Linked DNA regions of Homo sapiens: region 2 is linked to region 1. The links are contacts of gene promoters, found by promoter capture Hi-C in human tissues and cell types (Jung and others, 2019). All regions are on one chromosome and are shown on one strand. The core of a region is centred on a gene start or on the middle of the fragment in contact, and the rest is flanking DNA. Distances in the headings are between cores, read along the strand shown. Region 1 holds the start of EPS15 (epidermal growth factor receptor pathway substrate 15). Region 2 overlaps EPS15 (epidermal growth factor receptor pathway substrate 15).

Evidence for each region. The method cuts DNA at HindIII sites, captures the fragments that hold promoters and counts their contacts. A contact is called where the count stands out against the background at its distance.
Region 2: a contact is called between a fragment that was not itself captured here and the fragment with the promoter of EPS15 in region 1, in 1 of the 25 tissues and cell types used here (spleen).

What each region holds. Positions count from the first base shown.
Region 1 is chr1:51,517,130-51,521,142 of GRCh38, reverse strand. It overlaps EPS15 (epidermal growth factor receptor pathway substrate 15), which reads left to right and starts at 1,877. Exons shown (of 25, transcript NM_001981.3): 1 at 1,877-1,944. The coding sequence starts at 1,912. It overlaps EPS15-AS1 (EPS15 antisense RNA 1), which reads right to left and starts at 2,871. Exons shown (of 5, transcript NR_183651.1): 1 at 2,697-2,871. It also overlaps a transcript of OSBPL9 not described here. RefSeq lists silencers at 1,654-1,843, 1,994-2,463 and an enhancer at 1,694-2,622. The HindIII fragment of the contact is 17,142 bases long and covers 1-4,013 here.
Region 2 is chr1:51,387,220-51,391,302 of GRCh38, reverse strand. The region is part of intron 21 of EPS15 (epidermal growth factor receptor pathway substrate 15); the gene reads left to right. Among named protein-coding and RNA genes, the nearest start is that of TTC39A, 59 kb to the right of the region's middle. The HindIII fragment of the contact is 4,626 bases long and covers 1-4,083 here.

The DNA of each region.
Region 1 (4,013 bases), core at 628-3,127:
CTATGCTGCTTTGTCTATCAGTTGTATAACCCTGGGCAAATCACTTAGCCTCTGTGACCCTGCATTACCTCATTTGTAAAGTGAGTATGACGATTACTTCCTTTTAGAGTTGTGAAGCTCAAATGTGCTAATATAAAGTAGAAAACACCGGTAGAAACACCGGTTGTGGTTATGGCTGATAAGTGTACCAAAGTGAAGTAATGTAAAACAGTATCTCTTATTCTCTCTTCAGTTAAAGAGATTAGCAGCAAAAAAGAAGCCAAGGAAGATGCTCTTGAATAAGTGGTTACTCACCAGACCTATATGGCTTGCTCTTGTTAGCTGGCCTTTGCCAGAAGGAGTCTGAGTAGAATTAGGAGTTCCTTGGGAAATTTCTGGAATGGTTTGCTTGTGGAGGCAATAGTCTAAAAACTTAGGTGGGGCTAACTCCATCCTGGGTCTTGTTCAGTTGTCCCTCCTACCACGGGGACTGCTATGATAATGGTAATGGGTGTAGGCCTGATAGAGTTGTGGTTTGTTGTAATGGGAAGCCATCGTGACTAAGAAATTAAGACCAATTCGGGCAAATACATTTATTGAGGCCTCTGTGGTAGGCTAAACTATGAGGGAGATAAAGCAGTGAGTCAGCCCCTTGTCCTCAAGGATTTTACAGTGCAGTGAGGTGGAGACAAACCCTCAACTAACGCTTACAGATAAGGCAGAGTATAAAAACGGTCACATCAGAACAACTTAGAGGTGGGGTGTGGAGTTCCTAGAAGGCTTCTTGAAGTAGGTGGTATATACTCTGAGACTTTGAAGATGAATTTCAAGTAACTGGGTATTCCAACTGAAGGTTGGCAGCATCAGAAGGTGTAGGATGTGTTATGTTTAATATAGGCAGGAACGAAGGCCTTTACTGAGCATGCACTGTAATGCTAGGGTCTGACGATATAGAAATATATTGAAAACAGTTCTTGCCATTGAGGAGCTCTTAATCTAGAGGGATAGATAGGTGTAAACTGTCATTAGGGTGATGACTTCACAAGGTAGAGAAGAAAGGTTATAAAGGAGAGTGTGTAACTCTGACATAAGGAAGAGAAAAAGATACTTTGCAAAGGAGGTGAAACTTGAATTATGTCCTGAGAAAGAAGGAGGAGTTTGCTAAGTGGATGATGGGAGAAGCTAGGAGTGCTACAGGCACCAGCGTTCCCTTGTTAAACAATCTAAATGTGACAGGCACCAGGCAAATACATTTTTGCTTCCCCTTTCCAAATGGATTTTGGCTGTGGGAGGGAATGACTTAATGTCTTCTTTTCCAATATACTAGCAGATGGTTAAATATTTACAGTTAGACTTGGATTCTAATTCAGCTATATAATTAGCTGTATGACCTTAGTAAGACACTTATTTGTGTTTCAGTTCCTTCATTCATACAATTCAAAAAATAAGAGTCTAGTACAGAGCCTGGCATATATAAAGTGCCATTATTATTTTCTATCATTATCTCATTTAGTCTTTGTAAGTAACTGGGCCTCTAGTTACAATTTCCCCCATTTTTCAGAAGCAGGAGCTCAGCGTAGGTAGGTGGCCTGTCTGAAGTTCACAGGTCAATCTGCAGTCGCCTCCGCAGCCCGTCCGCTTTAATTTTATGTCCGCGCCGGGTTTTCCAAGGCGGCCCCGGGGGCAGGCTCTGGTCCGGTGGCCGAGACTCCGGCGCCAGGGTTTGGGCGGCGCCGCGGCCGGCTCCGGCGGGCGGGCAGGCGGGCGGGGCCAGGCGGGGCGGGGCGGGCGTGGGGAGGGAAGTTGTGGAAGTTAGGGGAGACGCCCGCCCGCCCGCCCCGGCCTCGCCTGCGGCCGCTCCCTCCGCCTCCTCCCCGCCCCGAGCCCCAGTCAGCCCGTCTTCCTTCCCCTCCCTTGCATGATGGAAACACCATGGCTGCGGCGGCCCAGCTCTCTCTGACACAGGTAACGCCACACGCCCGTCCGCCGGGCTTGGCCGGCCGGTGCCCCCTCCCCCACCGCCCTCAGCTTCGCCGACTTCTTGGCTTGTGGGCCAAGCAGGCAGCTTCTTGGCTTGTGGGCCGGGCGGCCGGTGTGTGTGAGGGAAAGCGGGTGCGACTGCGGGAGGGCGCCCTCCGGAGCCGGAGCCCCCCTGCGGCCGCCGCGACCTCGCCCAGGGTCGTCGGGCGCCTCCTGCCCCGCCCCGCGCGGCCCTCGCCGCCCTCCGCGCCGCTGCCGAGTGGACTGTGACCCGGCCGCGCTCTGCCGGTGCCGGGCCGGCTCCCGCGGGGCAGCTTTCACCTACCCAGGAAGTTTCCTCCCACAGGGCCGCACGCATCCCAGGTGAGCTCCTGTTGAGCTCGCGCGGGCCGGCCGCACCCCCGGGCCGCACGAGGCTCGCCCGCCAGGCCGGCTGCGCGCCGCCCCCAGTAGGAGTTGCCTTCCAGAGCCGGACGCGCAGGCCCCCCAAGCCAGTCTTTCCTCTCCAGACCTGCCTTTCTCCCAGGGTCCGACGGAAGCCCTCCCTTCCCAGAGTTTAATGTAGTTAGCCTCGCCTCCAAAGAAGTCTCATCCTACTCAACTACCCACTCTGCCGGCCCCTTCCTCCGTTCAGCCTCTCCCCCCTCCTGATCAGGTTTCCTTCTGGGTCAGACCCCCAATGCAGCCTTTTGCCACCCACGTCTGCTTCCACTTCAACTTCCCCTCGGGGGGCTCACGCCTGATCGCTGTCCAGGTGGATCCCTTTAACGGGTGTGGTGGCTCCGCCAGTCTTGGTGCCAGGAACGGCCTCCCGGGGAGCACTTTTCTTGGGGGGAATCCTCAGCAAAACCTGTTCTCGAGCTTCCCTCTTGCCTCGTTGCTTCCTGTCAAAGTCCAGTCCTTGTGCTTCTCAGAAAACCTCTAAACATCACTCACACTGGGAACCTGGTCCCTCCCTCTCTGTAAAGAAGCCAATTACAATGTAAACATGGTGTCCGGGATGATAAGGTGACAGACACCTGCCAGTTCCTTCCTGCTCCTGTGACCCAAACTCTCCCCCGCGTCTCCTCAGACGGTTCTCTCCAGAGCTGGTGGCGCGTGCTTCCCGATTGGGGCCCATCCCGTCTTCCTTGCCTGCATTGTGGTATCTCACTGCCATCTTGTACTCCTTGGCCTAGATTCGTCGGTGCTTCTAAGGCTTTAGCGCTGGGATAGGGCAAACATTTCGGCAGTGGAGTTTTCTGTGTTTAAAATCAAGAGGCTTTGGGGTGCTTTGCCTAGCACTGTAGGATAGAGAGAAAAAAATGTTTTCTCAGAAACCAGGAGTCACGTACATGCTTCATGTAAAATAACTAACCCGTGTTTGCAGGAATTCTAAGTGTCATAAGGAAAGTCTATTTCCCAGTTTTTTTGATGGTGGTGGTGGTTGTCCTGTTCTGACAAGCAGAGAACCCTTTAACATGGAATGTGGTGGTTTAGTCTTGGTTATGTATGTTTGGAAGGGTCCTCCCAAAACTCAAATTTGAACAACTACAGCACTGACTTTTAGGTATTCACTTTCTGTGAGTCTAGTTAGTGACTTGCATTAAACAAGATCCCTGTTGGCAGGCTGTTGTTTTCTGGCTCTGTTGGCCAATTCTGGCAGGAGTTTTCCCTTGAAGATTTTGTGCTCTTAAAGACTTCCGTAAAATTGCTTCTCAGTTGTGTGCATACTTTATTCTCTCCCTGGGTAATACCATGTTTTTAGCTTCTATTTACATCATTCATCTCTGGAGAATTGCTTCAAGCTCTGTCAGTTTTATAGCCATTTAAAAAATTTACATATGTTCTTGGGTTATATATTTAGGTATTAATGTGTACACAGTAAGTACGGAATCAGTAGTAGCTATTATCCTTCAGTGCCTCACATATGAGATAATATACATTGGTGGTTAATTTTTATTGATAATTCAAATAAGTAAATTCAGAATATTCTGATTTTAAAACATGAAGAGGCAATAAGAGGGATTACGAAGGCACACGAAAAAATAACATTTCCAGTTGCTAGTATACCC
Region 2 (4,083 bases), core at 928-3,427, 130 kb after region 1:
GGTGTGTGATGTTCCCCTTCCTGTGTCCATGTGTTCTCATTGTTCAATTCCCACCTATGAGTGAGAACATGCGGTGTTTGGTTTTTTGTCCTTGTGATAGTTTACTGAGAATGATGATTTCCAGTTTCATCCATGTCCCTACAAAGGACATGAACTCATCATTTTTTATGGCTCCATAGTATTCCATGGTGTATATGTGCCACATTTTCTTAATCCAGTCTATCATTGATGGACATTTGGGTTGGTTCCAAGTCTTTGCTATTGTGAATAGTGCTGCAATAAATATACGTGTGCATGTGTCTTTATAGCAGCATGATTTATAGTCCTTTGGGTATATACCCAGTAATGGGATGGCTGGGTCAAATGGTATTTCTAGTTCTAGATCCCTGAGGAATTGCCACACTGAATTCCACATGGTTGAACTAGTTGACAGTCCCACCAACAGTGTAAAAATGTTCCTGTTTCTCCATATCCTCTCCAGCACCTGTTGTTTCCTGACTTTTTAATGATTGCCATTCTAACTGGTGTGAGATGGTATCTCATTGTGGTTTTGATTTGCATTTCTCTGATGGCCAGTGATGATGAGCATTTTTTCACGTGTCTGTTGGCTGCATAAATGTCTTCTTTGGAGAAGTGTCTGTTCATATCCTTCATCCACTTTTTGATGGGGTTGTTTTTTTTTTCTTGTAAATTTGTTTGAGTTCATTGTAGATTCTGGATATTAGCCCTTTGTCAGATGAGTAGGTTGCAAAAATTTTCTCCCATTTTGTAGGTTGCCTGTTCACTCTGATGGTAGTTTCTTTTGCTGTGCAGAAGCTCTTTAGTTTAATGAGATCCCATTTGTCAATTTTGGCTTCTGTTGTCATTGCTTTTGGTGTTTTAGACATGAAGTCCTTGCCCATGCCTATGTCCTGAATGGTGATGCCTAGGTTTTCTTCTAGGGTTTTTATGGTTTTAGGTCTAACGTTTAAGTCTTTAATCCATCTTGAATTAATTTTTGTATAAGGTGTAAGGAAGGGATCCAGTTTCAGCTTTCTACATATGGCTAGCCAGTTTTCCCAGCACCATTTATTAAATAGGGAATCCTTTCCTCATTGCTTGTTTTTCTCAGGTTTGTCAAAGATCAGATAGTTGTAGATATGCGGCGTTATTTCTAAGGGCTCTGTTCTGTTCCATTGATCTATATCTCTGTTTTGGTACCAGTACCATGCTGTTTTGGTTACTGTAGCCTTGTAGTATAGTTTGAAGTCAGGTATTTGATGCTGCCAGCTTTGTTCTTTTGGCTTAGGATTGACTTGGCGATGCAGGCTCTTTTTTGGTTCCATATGAATTTTAAAGTAGTTTTTTCCAATTCTGTGAAGAAAGTCATTGGTAGCTTGATGGGGATGGCATTGAATCTATAAATTACCTTGGGCAGTATGGCCATTTTCACGATATTGATTCTTCCTACCCATGAACATGGAATGTTCTTCCATTTGTTTGTATCCTCTTTTATTTCATTGAGCAGTGGTTTGTAGTTCTCCTTGAAGAGGTCCCTCATGTCCCTTGTAAGTTGGATTCCTAGGTATTTTATTCTCTTTGAAGCAATTGTGAATGAGAGTTCACTCATGATTTGGCTCTCTGTCTGTTATTGGTGTATAAGAATGCTTGTGATTTTTATACATTGATTTTGTATCCTGAGACTTTGCTGAAGTTGCTTATCAGCTTAAGGAGATTTTGGGCTGAGACAGTGGGGTTTTCTAGATATATAATCATGTCATCTGCAAACAGGGACAATTTGATTTCCTCTTTTCCTAATTGAATACCCTTTATTTCCTTCTCCTGCCTAATGGCCCTGGCCAGAACTTCCAACACTGTGTTGAATAGGAGTGGTGAGAGAGGGCATCCCTGTCTTGTGCCAGTTTTCAAGGGGAATGCTTGCAGTTTTTGCCCATTCAGTATGATATTGGCTGTGGGTTTGTCATAGATAGCTCTTATTATTTTGAGATACGTCCCATCAATACCTAATTTATTGAGAATTTTTAGCATGAAGGGTTGTTGAATTTTGTCAAAGGCCTTTTCTGCATCTATTGAGATAATCATGTGGTTTTTGTCTTTGGTTCTGTTTATATGCTGGATTACATTTATTGATTGGCATATATTGAACCAGCCTTGCATCCCAGGGATGAAGCCCACTTGATCATGGTGGATAAGCTTTTTGATGTGCTGCTGGATTCGGTTTGCCAGTATTTGATTGAGGATTTTTGCATCAATGTTCATCAAGGATATTGGTCTAAAATTCTCTTTTTTGGTTGCATCTCTGCCTGGCTTTGGTATCAGGATGATGCTGGCCTCATAAAATGAGTTAGGGAGGATTCCCTCTTTTTCTGTTGATTGGAATAGTTTCAGAAGGAATGGTACCAGTTCCTCCTTGTACCTCTGGTAGAATTCGGCTGTGAATCCATCTGGTCCTGGACTCTTTTTGGTTGGTAAGCTATTGATTATTGCCACAATTTCAGAGTCTGTTATTGGTCTATTCAGAGAGTCAACTTCTTCCTGGTTTAGTCTTGGGAGGGTGTATGTGTCGAGGAATTTATCCATTTCTTCTAGATTTTCTAGTTTATTTGCATAGAGGTGTTTGTAGTATTCTCTGATGGTAGTTTGTATTTCTGTGGGATCGGTGGTGATATCCCCTTTATCAGTTTTTATTGCGTCTATTTGATTCTTCTCTCTTTTTTTCTTTATTAGTCTTGCTAGCGGTCTATCAATTTCGTTGATCCTTTCAAAAAACCAGCTCCTGGATTCATTAATATTTTGAAGGGCTTTTTTGTCTGTTTCCTTCAGTTCTGCTCTGATTTTAGTTATTTCTTGCCTTCTGCTAGCTTTTGAATGTGTTTGCTCTTGCTTTTCTAATTCTTTTAATTGTGATGTTAGGGTGTCAATTTTGGATCTTTCCTGCTTTGTCTTGTGGGCATTTAGTGCTATAAATTTCCCTCTACACACTGCTTTGAATGTGTCCCAGAGATTCTGGTATGTTGTGTCTTTGTGCTCGTTGGTTTCAAAGAAGATCTTTATTTCTGCCTTCATTTCGTTATGTACCCAGTAGTCATTCAGGAGCAGGTTGTTCAGTTTCCATGTAGTTGAGTGGTTTTGAGTGAGTTTCTTAATCCTGAGTTCTAGTTTGATTGCACTGTGGTCTGAGAGACAGTTTGTTATAATTTCTGTTCTTTTACATTTGCTGAGGAGAGCTTTACTTCCAACTACATGGTCAATTTTGGAATAGGTGTGGTGTGGTGCTGAAAATAATGTATATTCTGTTGATTTGTGGTGGAGAGTTCTGTAGATGTCTATTAGGTCTGCTTGGTGCAGAGCTGAGTTCAATTCCTGGATATCCTTTTTAACTTTCTGTCTCATTGATCTGTCTAATGTTAACAGTGGGGTGTTAAAGTCTCCCATTATTATTGTGTGGGAGTCTAAGTCTCTTTGTAGGTCTCTAAGGACTTGCTTTATGAATCTGGGTGCTCCTGTATTGGGTGCATATATACTTAGGATAGTTAGCTCTTCTTGTTGAATTGATCCCTTTACCATTATGTAATGGCCTTCTTTGTCTCTTTTGATCTTTGTTGGTTTAAAGTCTGTTTTATCAGAGACTAAGATTGCAACCCCTGCCTTTTTTTGTTTTCCATTTGCTTGGTAGATCTTCCTCCATCCTTCTATTTTGAGCCTATGTGTGTCTCTGCACGTGAGATGGGTTTCCTGAATACAGCACACTAATGGGTCTTGACTCTTTATCCAACTTGCCAGTCTGTGTCTTTTAATTGGAGCATTTAGTCCATTTACATTTAAAGTTAATATTGTTATGTGTGAATTTGATCCTGTCGTTATGATGTTAGCTGGTGATTTTGCTCATTAGTTGATGCAGTTTCTTCCTAGTCTCGATGGTCTTTACAATTTGGCATGATTTTGCAGTGGCTGGTACTGGTTGTTCCTTTCCATGTTTAGTGCTTCCTTCAGGAGCTCTTTTAGGGCAGGTCTGGTGGTGACAAAATCTCTCAGCATTTGCTTGTCTGTAAAGTATTTTATTTCTCCTTCACTTATGAAGCT